Regions from separate parts of the Homo sapiens genome. Here region 1 is linked to region 2. The links are contacts of gene promoters, found by promoter capture Hi-C in blood cells and fetal thymus (Javierre and others, 2016). All regions are on one chromosome and are shown on one strand. The core of a region is centred on a gene start or on the middle of the fragment in contact, and the rest is flanking DNA. Distances in the headings are between cores, read along the strand shown.

Region 1 (6,464 bases), core at 920-3,419, 1.7 Mb before region 2:
TGGAAGGATGTCAAGCCATTCACAGAATTAACGAGATTGAAGAACTAGATATTGAAATAGGCAGGGGTGTGGGAAGATGGAATTTTAGCCAAGGAAGGGTCAGGCCAGGACCTTATCCCTGGCTTTGCTGCCATTAGACACTATAGAGCTCTTCAAACACTTTTCATCCTTCCCTCTATCTTTGCACCACCCTTTCAAGAATCAAAGTCTGATTGGAGCAAATGACCAGATAAGCGGGTGCTTTTCTGGCCAAAGAAAATCAGGCAGGCCTCTTCTGCCATGTCAGGTAGAACCCTACTTCTCACCAACCCTGATACAATGCAGTAACCTCCACAATAGGAAAGGGGTTTCAATTATGGTTAGATTTTTTTTTTTAAAGACAATAGATGTGCTACAGCATTTACTGATCCCTGCTGATTATAGGATCCTTTTTCATTTGCCTAGTGATTGAAATAATGTATAAAGTGGAAGTTGTTAAACTGTGGCCCATGCATATGATTCAAGGGTCATATATTGTCTAAAATTGTGTGCAGAAATTTGAGGTATATGCATTTCGCATTTTTGGCGGTGGGAGGGTCCATAACTTCTCCAAGAGGTCTACAATCTACAAAAAATTGAGAAATACTCTCTGGAAAGTTCTATATAATTGCTTTCTCCTTTTGAAAGTTCACTCATTTGTCTGCATTAATTGTCACTAGTATTACTACCTTTTATCCGCTAGATGGTGATATTGTACGTGTTTTCATGCACCAATCATAAGCTTCATTGATATGAATTGAAATAGCTCAGTGGTTTAAACGAAACCTCTTCAAAACCATTTGAGGGAAGGAAGGAATTTTAGAAACTGCATATTCCTTCTCCTTGTCTTACACATGAGGAACTGCGTTCCCAAAAGTTTAAGAGAGAGCCTTGACTGGAAAAAAAACCCCTTTGAAAAAATGGAAAGGATGCCCTGAGGGGAAGGAGCACCTGGAGTCTGGGCTCTCCTCTTTCAACCCCAAATCACTTTAGGATGCACCTCTGGCTAGCTGAGAGACTGGGGGTGGTGCTGGTTGTGGACTTTAGATGCCTTTGGCTCTGAGACACATATATTTCAGTTAAAACTGACCATGACTGAAAATCTGATCCTTCTCTTGGGATCCTGATAATGCTAAAGAGAGCTTTACTTAGGGAAGAGTTTGCAAAGAAAGCCGCTTTTCTCTGACATAAGCCTCCCCTCTCCCCTTTCCTGGTTAGCTTTAGACATTTCTTAAGTGCAGTATGTTATTTTGAGGGCCAAAGGTAACCCTATATAGATGTACGTATTATGATAACAGGAATGAGTGACTGAGGCAAAAGTCTTGTTATCAATGGTGAATATCACAGTTACTGTTGGATAATCTGTGTGGGTCTGCAGCAGCCTCAGTTCTTGACTCCTCAGAAGAAAGAATTCAACTAAGGGGCATAAGGCAGAAGAAAAGACCAAGGCAAGTTTCAGAGCAGGAATGAAAAGAAAGTAAAGTACACTTGGAAGAGGGTCAAGTGGGAATGTTGGAGGTAAAGTGCCCTGTTTGACCTTGGACTTAGGGTTTTATATGCTGCCAGTGTCTTGCCTCCCTTTTACCTTGATTCTTCCCTTGGGGTGAGCTGCCCACATGTGTGGTGCTGCTAGCACTTGGGAGGTGAGTATGTGCAGTATGTTTACTGGAGTTGTAAGCATGCTCACCTGATGCAGTCTTCCGTTTTCCAGAGGAATGCCCCCAGAAAGTCATATACCAGTTAATTTGCACCATTTTGCCTCTTAATGCATATGTTTGAGCCCACTCACCCAATTCCTGAGATCTTATTGGGAAGCTGCTGATCTCCAGTTTCAGTTGTTTTTATCTAATGGGAAACTGCCTTTCTCTGGCAGAGGCTGTGACCAATTATCATTTTGGAGAGGCCATGTGACAAACTGCCTGACCATCACCTGATGGTTGCCTGGCATTCCTGGTGGTGGTTAGGGGAGCCCTCTCTTGCCCTGCTCGTGCCTCATGGCTGTGTCCCCACCCAGATTTCATCTTGAATTCCCACGTGTTGTGGGAGAGACCAGGTGGGAGGTAATTGAATCATGGGGGCAAATCTTTCCCATGCTGTTCCTGTGATAGTGAGTAAGTCTCACGAGATCTGATGGTTTTAAAAAGAGGTATTCTCCTGCACACGCTCCCTCATTTTTTGCCTGCTGCCATCCAGTTAAGATATGACTTGCTCCTCCTTGCCTTCTGCCATGATGTGAGGCTTCCCTAGCCACATGGAACTGTAAGTCCAATTAAACCTTTTTCTTTTGTAAATTGCTCAGTCTCAGGTATGTCTTTACCAGCACCATGAAAACGAACTAATACACCTGACTAGCTACCTACTGTAACAGTCTCAACTATCTAGATTTATTAAGCCAGCTTTAGGGTATTCTGCGAAAAAATAAGCCATAGACATATGTTCTTCTCTGATTGTTTTTCAGAGAGGTTTTCAGGAGTTCAGTATTTATACACTTCCTTAAAGCAGGGGAAGGCATTTGGAAGAGAGACAGGTAGGCAGTTAGATGAATTACATTCTTATGTAATTTGGAAGAGATTACGGCATTTGGAAGAGAGACAGGTAGGCAGTTACATTCTTATGAGACTTTAGTTAGTGGCCAGTGAATCTACATTTTACATGGGATAAAGGGAACCCCTGAAGAGAAAAAAAGGAGTAAAGGAGAATCAATAATGCAGACATTTCTGGGTAGATGGAGGAAGTGACTGACCTCATCTTGTCTTTGTTCTGTACCTGGTAAGATATGTATAACAGACTTTAGTCTTAGGAACTAGACTTAGACTGTAGACCCACAGTTACAATTGGCATGTCCTTGTTTATGGGAGGCCAGCAAATAATTTACTTATGAGTGATCTGTGGAGACAGCCCTCCCTAGATGCCTGAGGCCTTTCACTTCTCCACCTCTCCTTGAGGATCTGGCTGATGCATAATGCTAGTAGCAGCTATTCATTTGCAAGAGGATGTTGCACGACTCAGTCTTCAGGCTTAACCTTCCTTTTGCATAAGGAGTTTGGGGGTCCTGAGATTCTTTAAAATTTTCCTTTACAATAAGCAGTTTTGACAACACTTAAGAGATGTGCTGTAAATATTAGTGTTTGGAGTTCCCAGACATGAAGATAGAGAAAGCCTCAAGTCACATGGGCTGCGAGAGTGGAGCACGGTGGAAAAGTGGCTGGACAGATTCTCACAAGCAGTGGGTCTTCCTCAATGAGTTCTGTGGCATCCTTCATGTTCAGACCATTAAACCAAGGCACCAAATGGAGCTACCACATGTGCTCAGGACCCACGTTTCTGGAGGATAATCCTTCCAAATGAATCCTCCAAAAGTGTCTTTAAGCAGTATCCAAAGCTACTGCTATGTCTTTTCCCCTCCACTTCCCTATTATGTTTGCTCCTCAGTCCTCAGCCACACCCTAGAAAAGACAGGAATCAAAGTACCTTTCCTTCACACTTCTTTCCACCAAAGCTAACAATATTAAATTAATAAAGTGCCTTTTAAAAACCAACCTTTCCATTTGCACTAATAGACAAGCTTTGCTATATCTGAAACTCAAGGTTGTCTCTGCTAAATTTCAGTAAACAATTGTGAAAGTCATGATGATGGATAATCACTGTCGTCTCTACAGGTCCACTATCCTATGCCTCAATATGCTGACCTTTATGTTCTTTGATTTCCTGTTAGGTTTGGCCAATGGGAAGCAACAGCAAGAGATGGATAGATGGAAGGAGAGAGAGCTGGAGAATTTCTTTCCTTACATCAGTTGGGTAGCTGGGCAGATTGACTGGGTCTGAAACCAAACACAGGTTCAGCTACTTGCCACTTGCAAGGTCAAAAATCAAGGACAAGGTGGGGTGGAAGGAAGGAAAGGAATCGCCAAGGCTTTGTGCCTGAAAGGAACCATTTCAAATTTCTGGATAGAACGCAAGGGCTTAAAAAGGGAGGTTGGTGGTGGGAGGGGCATGCAAGAGGGGCAAGGAGGTGCCAGTCAGTCTATGTAAGTTGCTCTGATGACTTGAGTTATTACCCCATCTGTTGAACGGGCTGGCACCATCCCAGGCACAATCGGGGTGAAAGCTAACTGCAGCTTTGAGTAATCTCCTGGAGGAGGAGAATTCCATAGGTACCTAGATTGTTTCAAGACTCAGTCCATGAACTTCCAAGAAAACATATAATTAGATGAGGGGGACATTGTGCAAGGGAGTGCCTGGTGGAAGGAAAGAGAGCAAAGGTTACCATATAATTTTCAAGCATCTAAACATAAAGTAAGCAAGGAGGAAAATGGAAAAAGATTAAAAAATTAAAAATAGAGTATTTGGTTACATGTCCTTGACCCTCTGCTGAAGGCCACAGCTTATGACCACCCTCTCCTACAGCTACCAGAGTCTCGGTTTCCAGTAACTCGTTGTTCCTTCCTCTGGCTCATCAGGCCCAGGAATGATAGCAGCTTCCTGTTATTGCTAGTCATGGGGTGTTTCATTATCTCTTGTTATTTTTCCTTAACTCTACTCACTCCTTTGTAAACAGACCTTTCACTAATAACTCTTCACTCTTTCCATCTGCTTTCAGCCAGAACCCTGACCTGCTCAGCCAGAAACTTCACTGAAGTTTCTATAGTCCTCACGTTCCATTAGATCTCTAGACTTATTCATTCTACATATCTGCAACTTTGTATCCTTTGATCTGCATCTCCTTATTTCCTCCCTCCTTCCCCCACCCCACCGCTGGTAACCATCATTTTGTTCTTTGTCTTTGTGTCTTCGACATTTTTTTTTTTTTAAAGATTACACATTTAAGTGAGATCATGCAATATTTTTCTTTCTGTGTCTGGAGTTTTGCAGTTTCAGGTCTTACATTTAAGCCTTTAATCCATTCTGAGCTGATTTTGTGTGTGGCATAAGAAAAGAATCCTATTTTATATTTTATTATATTTCATTTGGTTTTTAATTTTTAATTTCATCAACTGTGACTTTGTTGTATGAAAAGAGTGTGGGTAGCAAATCTCTTGCTCCACTTTGGAAATCCCCTCCCCTCCCACTAAAGTGGAGATTCCTACCTAATCTAACTCCTGGAGGGTTGTTAACAGAGATTAAAAGAGACAGTGAAGTGGACATGCTTTAAAATAAAAATGTGTTTTATAAGAGAGGCAGCATAATCTGGAGACTCAGAGCACAGGCACCAGAGGCAACACTAGGTTTGAAGCTCCAGCTCTGCCTCTGATAAACTTATAATTTAAATCTGTGCCTCAGTTTCCTCATATGTAAAATGAGGATAATAACAGATGTACCTCTTAGGGTTGTTGTCGGAGTTAAATGAAATATAATATTGCCTGATATATAGTAAGTTCTCAGTCAGTGGTACTTTTCTTTTTTTTTTTTTTTTTTATGAGACAGAGTCTTGCTCTGTTGCCCAGGCTGGAGTGCAGTGGCGTGATCTCGGCTCAATGCAAGCTCTGACTCCCAGGTTCACACCACTCTCCTGCCTCAGCCTCCTGAGTAGCTGGGACTACAGGCGCCCGCCACCACACCCGGCTAACTTTTTTTGTATTTTTAGTAGAGATGGGGTTTCACCCTGTTAGCCAGGGTGGTCTCGATCTCCTGACCTCGTGATCCACCCACCTCGGCCTCCCAAAGTGCTGGGATTGAGAGGTGACAATGTGCTAGCAGCCCTTGCTTGCTCTCGGCACCTCCTCAGGCCACAGCGTCCACTCTGGCTATGCTCGAGGAGCCCTTCAGCCCGCCACTGCACTGTGGGGGCCCCTCTCTGGGCTGGCCCAGGCCGGAACTGGCTCCCTCTGCTTGTGGGGAGGTGTGGAGGGAGAGGCGTGGATAGGAACCAGGGATGGGCGTGGTGCTCGTGGGCTAGTGCGAGTTCCAGGTGGGCGGGGGCTTGGCGGCCCACACTTGGAGTGGCTGGCTGGCATCGCCGGCCTGCACAGTGAGGGGTTTAGCACCCGGGCCAGCAGCTGCGGAAGGTGTGCTGGGTCGCCCAGCACTGCCGGCCCATGCGCGACACGCTTGAATTCTCGCTGGGCCTCAGCCACCTCCCTGCATGGCAGGGCTCGGGACCTGCAGCCCGCCATGCCTGAGTTCCCCTGCAGTGGGCTCCCACGCCGCCCGAGGTTCCCCAACAGCTGCCGCCCCCCGCTCCACGGCACCCAGTCTCATCAACAGCCCAAGGGCTGAGGAGTGCAGGCAGGGCGTGGGACTGGCGGGCAGCTCCGCCCACGGGCCTAGTGTGGGATCCACTAGGAAAAGTCAGCTGGGCTCTTGAGTCGGGTGGGGACTTGGAGAAATTTTATGTCTAGCTGGAGGATTCTATATGCACCAATCAGCACTCTGTGTCTAGCTCAGGGTTTGTGGATGCACCAATCAGCACTCTGTATCTAGCTAATCTGGTGGGGACTTGGAGAACT
Region 2 (6,771 bases), core at 4,079-6,578:
TAAACTGCAATTGATCATGGTGTATAATCCTTTTCATGTTTTTAGATATGTTTGCTAGTATTTTGTTGAGTATTTTTACATCTGTATTTATAACAGATACTATTCTGTATTTTTCTTTCTTGTGATGTTTTTTGTTTGATTTTGGTATCAGGGTAATAATGGCCTTACAGAATGAGAAATGTTCATTAAAAATGTTCCTTCCTCCTCTATTTTCTGAAAAACATTTGTTAAAAACAAAAATACATTTATGCTGACTTTCATATTTACCTATATATTTGCAGTACTCTATTCACATTATTCTTCATGTGGATTCAAGTTACTGTCTAGTGTCCTTCTATTTTAGCTTGAAGGACTCCTTTTAATGTAGGGCAATTATGCTAAGTTATTTTGGCTTTTGTTTGCCTCAGTATGTCTTAAATTCTTCTTCAATCTTACAGAATAATTTTGCTGTACAAAGAACAACTGGCTGGCAGTCTTTTTCTATTTTATGTCATCCCTCTGCCTTTTGGTGTCCATGGTTTCTGATGTGAAAACAGCTGTTAATCTTATTGAGGAATTCCTTATATGTAATGAACTGTTTCTTTCTTGGTGCTTTCAAGACTTTTTGTCCATATTTATTGGCAGGTTTATTACGATGTGTCTAGATATGAATTTCTGTGAGTTTATTCTACTTAGAGTTCATTGAGCTCCATCCATATGTAGGTTAATGTTTTTCATCAAATTTGGGACGTCTTCTATTATTCTTCAAATATCGGTTTTCCTCCTTTTTTCTCCTTTCCTTTCTTTCTGGGACTCTCATTATGCACATGGTAGTATGCCTAACGGTATCTCACAGATCTCAGACTCTGTTCATTTTTCTTCATTCTTTTCTTGCCTCTGTTCTTCAGTCTGGATAATGTGAATTGACCTATCTTCAGGTTTGTTGATACTTTCTTCTGCCAGCTCAGATCTGGTGTTGAGTCTCTCTAGTGATGTTTTCATTTGAGTTCTTGCATTTTTTAACTCCAGAATTTCTACTTGATTCTTTTTTAAATGTTTAATTTCTTTAAAGATTTCTATTTCATTCCCACACTTTCTCTTAGTTCTTTAGATATGGTTTCCTTTAGTTCTTTGAACATATTTAAATAACTGTTTTGAAGTCTTTGCCTAGTATGTCCAATAGCCAGTATTCCTCAGAGACAGTTCCTTTTTACTGTTTTCCCCATGTGTGAACCATACTTTCTTGCCGTGTCTCATAACTTTGTTAAAGACTGGACATATAAAATAATATAATGGACAACTCCAAAAATGAGATTCTCTCCCCTTAGCAGGGTTTGTTTTGTTGCTGTTTGTTTGGTCACTTTAAACTAATTCTGTAAAATCTGTAGTCTTGGTCAGGTGTGGCAGTGAAATCTCTGATTGGTTAGCTCAGTTGTCAGCCAATAATTGGTCAGAGATTTCCTTAGATGCATTGAACCACTATGTGTCCTAGCCTTTGCTACCTTTGGGAAAGGGGGTCTGTATGCATGCTGAAGCATACCTCCTACATGCAGGCAGGCAGTTTACAACCCTATCTTAGTATTTACTTTCTGCCAGCACAGTGTTTCAAAGACAAACAAGGATGAGGACTGAGAGCTTCTTAGGTCTTTCCTGGTGTCTCCTATTGCTGCTGTAACAAACTCACCATAAGTGCAGTGGCTTAAACAACACACATTTATTGACTTATAGTTCTGGAGGTCTACTCTAAAATCAAAGTGTGAACCTGGAGGACATTACGCTAAGTGAAACAGAGATGCAAATCCTGTATAATCTCACTTAAACTGCACGTGGAATCTAACACAGAGTAGAACAATAGTTGCCAGAGGCTGGTGGGGAGGGCAAGGAAGGAAATAGGTAGTTGGTCAAACGGTGCAAAGTTTCAGATAGACAGGAGGAATGTTTTGAGATCTACTGCACAGTAGGTTAACTATACTCAGTAATAATGTATTGTGTATCTCAAAATAAGAGTAAATTTCAAATGTTTCACCAGAAAAAAATAAGTGAGGTGATAGATATGTTAATTATTAGCCAGGTTTAATCATTCCACATTGTATACATATATCAGAACATCACACTGTACCCCATAAATGTATATAATTAAGATTTGTCAATTAAAAATAATGTTAATTAAAACAAAGGTGTTAGTAGGGCTACATTCATTCTGGAAGCTTCAGGGAAGAATCCACCCCCTTACCTTTTTTTCCAGCATCTAGAACCACCTTAATTCCTTGGCTAATGGCCCCTTCCTCACATCACTCCATCCTCTTCCTTCCATCATCACATCTCCTACTTCTGACTCTGATCTTCCTGCGACTCTCTTATAAGGACCTTTGTGATTACACCAGGTCCACTCAGATAATTAAGGTATTTAATTTATCTTAATCACACCTGCAAAGTCCCTTTTACGATGCAAGATTACACAGTCACAGGTGAAAATAGTTATTATTGAAGGGTTATTTCAGGCAGCCAAGGAACATAAAATTCAGGTCATCAGAGGGAAGGTCCTTAGAAACAAAACAGAAGACAGAGCCTTATGCTGGTACAAAACCAGCATCACACTAATGTGATACTGTTAAAGATACTTCAAAAAAGTCATAATTCAGCAACTACAATGATCAAGAGAACAGATGGTAACAAGAAGGAAATGACATTGGAGAGGAGGATAGAGATTTGCGGTCTTCAGTTTTGAAAGGCAATAGCTAAGAGGGGTTATGAACAAATAATATACAAATATTAAAAAGTATGGAAAATGTGTTAACTTTTCATAATGAGTGAGGAATTTATGAGATTCCACGCCCTGAGGATATTGTAAAATAAAATACAATATAAAATAGTTTTAAAACTTCAGAGATATTTACTCCAAAGTAATTTAAAGACACTGTGATGGACTGAATTGTGTTCCCTCAAAATTCCTATGTAGAAGGCCTGATCCCCAAATAACTCTATCTGGAGATGGGGTCTTTATGTTAAATGAGGTCATTAAGGTGGGGACCTAATTTGATAGAACTAGTGTTCCTATAAGAAGAGATGCCAGAGATCTCTTTCTCTCCTCTTGTAACAGAGAAAAGACTATGTGAGGACACAGTGAGAAGGTGGCTGCCTACAGGCCAGGAAAAGAGGCCTCACCAGAAACCAACCCTAAGGGCAACTTGATCTTGAACTTCTAGCTTCTAGAACTGTGAGAAAATAAACTTTTGTTGTTTTAGCCACCAAGTCTGTAGCATTTTGTTATAGAAGCCCTAGCTGACAGGAACTTTAGATATTTTGGTAGACATCTCTAGTATCATGAGATTGCCACCAGGAAAATTCTCTCTTCTCAAGAAAATACTAGTTGGTTTCAGTGTTAAAGTCAGTAGGAATATTCGTTCATTTAATCATATGACAAATATTCAAGTTCGGTGTTAGGCTGTAGAATTTGTGTGTATAGGTATGTGCGTGTGGTATGCTGGGGGAAGTACAAAAATGGATAACATGTAAACTCCTAAACATTATCACAATATAGCATGCAGTAATGCTGCATTGTTTTGTTTTGTTTTTTTAAAAAAGCCCAAACACACGTGAAGAATTCTACCTAACTATGCTGAGGTAGATTCTCAACAATGAGGCTCTGCTTTCCCTACTAAAGTGGTAAGACAGTATACACCATGGTTCTCAATCTCAGCACTACTAACTTTTGGACCAGATGATTTTTGTTATGGGTGGCTGTTCTCTGGCCTGTATCCATTAGATGCTAGCAGCCCCTCAACACCCCCCTGCTCCCCACTCTGACAGCCAAAAATGTCTCCAAACATTGCTAGATATCCTCTAGGGGATTGATAAAATATCTGAAAGAGCTCCACAGGTGATCTGATCCAACCCCTGAGAAGGCAAACATCACAAAAGTGTGCATCAATAACAACATTAGGCAACTCGCAAGAAATGCAGATCAGAAGACAGAACATTGCTACAAGAATTTAGAGAAATGATGGAGAAAGCCAGCAACATGGTGTCACACATTTTTTTGAGCATAGTACTTAAAAATACTTTACGTATTATGTATATTTATATATTTTACATTTTTTCCTGAGATACTTGGGACAGAGTTAGAATAATAAAGAGAATTATAGAGGATGTGTGAGAAAATTTGCCGTAGGTGGAATTTCCTGAAGGTCTACGAGTAAAGACACTGTATTTCCTTAAAGGAGGAAAAAGATGGAACCTCTCCTCAGCTCATGACAGCCTTCCTTCAGGTTTATATTGATCCACAAATTATTTAGTAAGTGCATACTACGTTCCAGGCACTACACAACAGGCATAGTTCTTGGTGCTGGGAATACAATAAAGAATAAAATTTCCAATACTTTCTGCCCTCATGGAGCTTACATTCTCATGGGGGTGCGAGGGAGGGTGAGGGGTGTGAGGAGAAACATAAACAATAGAAATAAAGTATGTAATATAATATATGGTACTAAGTGCTATGGGGAAAAATAAAACCAGAAACAGGGACTGGGTGTGCCGCGTAAGGCGATTCATTTTAGGGAGATCATGGAAAGTCTCGCTGAGCTGATAACATCTGAACAAAGATACCTTGTCCTCACCACCTAGAAAGCGGTCCTAAGCCGATCACTGGAAACACCTCTGCCTCCGACCATCCCATATTGTCTTTCTCCTTGTGTTCCCAGCGCCGGTACAGTAACAGAGCTGCCACCAATTACTGAGCACAGAGTCCCCCTCCAATCAAGCACTGTGCCAGGGGCTCCCCAGACATAACGTTAGTCCAAAGCTCGGGAGGTGCATGTTACTATTCCCAATTTTTAGAGAAGAAAGTGAGTCGCCGACAGCATATGTTCTTATCACGCGGCTAGGAAGCGGCAGAGCCGGGTTCCCACCCAGGTCTTCCTCGACTCCGAAACCACATGGAGGCGGCTCTGCAAAAGCTGTTAAACGCACAAGCCAACAAAGAGCAACGCCCAGCGCGTGCCAGGCCCCGAGCAGGGGAGGCGAACGCCGCGCCTCCCGCCGGCGCTGCAGAGGGCACCTGTTCAGCCAGGGCCTGCAGCCCCTCGCCTGCCGCCAGAGCAGCTCTCGGTTCTCCCGGATTTACCTGTTGAGGCGCTGGCGTCGCTCCCACGCCGGTCCCGGTGGCCGCGCCCGCCCCTGCCACAGCCCCGGCTACCGCGGTGGCCGCAGCCGCTACCACAACCGTCGTCAGTGCGGCCATGTTTACCCGCCGAGCTACTCGGGCCGCGGCGGCCACCGGTGCCTGGGGATTCGTGGCAGGCGCACCCTGGCCTCTGCAGACAGCTCCCTGCGCTGCGGGCTTGGCCGGGATGCAGGGCGGGGCCGAGATGTAGGGCGGGGTCGGGATGCAGGGCGGGGCTGAGATGCGGGGGTGCAGGGGTGCGGGGGTGCGGGAGGGGCGGGACTGGGGTGCAGGGCGGGGCCGAAATGCGAGGCGGGGGCCGGGATTCAGGCGGGGAGGGGCGGGGCGAGGGAGGGGCAAGGTGCCGGGCGGAGCCGGGATGCAGGGGAGGGGCGGGTCTGGGGTTCTGGGGCGGGCGGGTGTGGGGGCGGGGCGGGGCGGGGCGGGGGCTGCGCTCTGCCCTGTCGCGGGTTTATATACCCTTTGGGCACTTAACCGACTGTGCCAGCCCAGTCCCATACCTGTCAAGAAAATTCATTGTCTTACATCGTCCTTAAATTTTATTCGTGTTATAGTCAATATATACATATTTTTACCTAATATACATCCGCTTTCTAGGTTTCTACTTAGCGCTGCTGAGACTGAGTCTAAATGAAAAAACATTATCAATGGATTCTAACAATAAATCATATTTTAGATTTTTAAAGAAAAAAACCCAGCTTGCTCCACAGAACCAGATATCAGAGGCAGGAATGCCACAGTTACATTCCTAGGACTTGGTCAATGAGAAGACAGATTCCAAAAATACAGTGCTGGGAAGTTGGAAAAAAGCCACAGATGACGCTTCCAGTCAAGACAACCTGTGGCAACTGAGCTGATTTCTGTAGGTACTACCTTTTCCCCCTTTATAGAAATCGATTCATTCAGTCAGTCAATATGGAGCTCCTAGCATATGTCAGGCACTGTTCTAGGCCTTGGGAATTCATTGTTGAATTAGACACATAGGTAAGGTTCCTTCACCTTTAACAAGTAAACAAATAGGTATTTATTGAGCAATTCCTTTATGCCAGGGCTGTTATAAGTGCTTTATATGCACTTTTGCATTTAATCTTCACAAATAACTTCATGAAGTAGGTACTATTATCATCTCCATTTCAGTGATAAAGTTAAGGATCACATGGCCACACAGGTAGAGGGTAGGATACCTATCTAGACAGCCTGACTCCAGAGACCATCCTGGTAGAGGTATTAAACAGGCAGCGGGATAAACGCCTCTGGAGCCCAGGAGAGAGAGAGCTAAAGATACGAATTTGATCTTCCTATAGAAAATATTTGAAATAAGACTGAATGAGCTCACCCAGGGTGAGTATAAATTGAAGTCTGAGAACTAAGCCTAGGCCACTCCGAGAAGGTGACCACGGACAAGAGGAGAAGGGGACCAATATGGAGAGATCTGTGAGAAGGGAGGAAAACCGGAAGTCTGTGGAGGGAAGTTTTTGCAGAAGAGGCCGGACGTGGTGGCTTACGCCTGTAATCCCAGCACTTTGGGAGGCCGAGGTGGGCGGATCACGAGGTCAGGAGATGGAGACCATCCTGGCCAACATGGTGAAACCCCATCTCTACTAAAAATA

What was found. The method cuts DNA at HindIII sites, captures the fragments that hold promoters and counts their contacts. A CHiCAGO score of 5 or more calls a contact.
Region 1: a fragment that was not itself captured here is called in contact with the fragment with the promoter of CCDC112 in region 2 in 3 of 17 cell types (total B cells, total CD4 T cells and total CD8 T cells); the score reaches 6.4 in total B cells.

The regions. Positions count from the first base shown.
Region 1 is chr5:113,611,453-113,617,916 of GRCh38, forward strand. No RefSeq gene overlaps it. Among named protein-coding and RNA genes, the nearest start is that of YTHDC2, 100 kb to the left of the region's middle. The HindIII fragment of the contact is 2,823 bases long and covers 759-3,581 here.
Region 2 is chr5:115,291,326-115,298,096 of GRCh38, forward strand. CCDC112 (coiled-coil domain containing 112) reads right to left here and starts at 5,329. Exons shown (of 10, transcript NM_001040440.3): 1 at 5,102-5,329. The coding sequence starts at 5,218. It overlaps LOC105379129 (a long non-coding RNA gene), which reads left to right and starts at 5,603. Exons shown (of 5, transcript XR_948684.3): 1 at 5,603-6,023. RefSeq lists a silencer at 4,978-5,427. The HindIII fragment of the contact is 8,729 bases long and covers 2,185-6,771 here.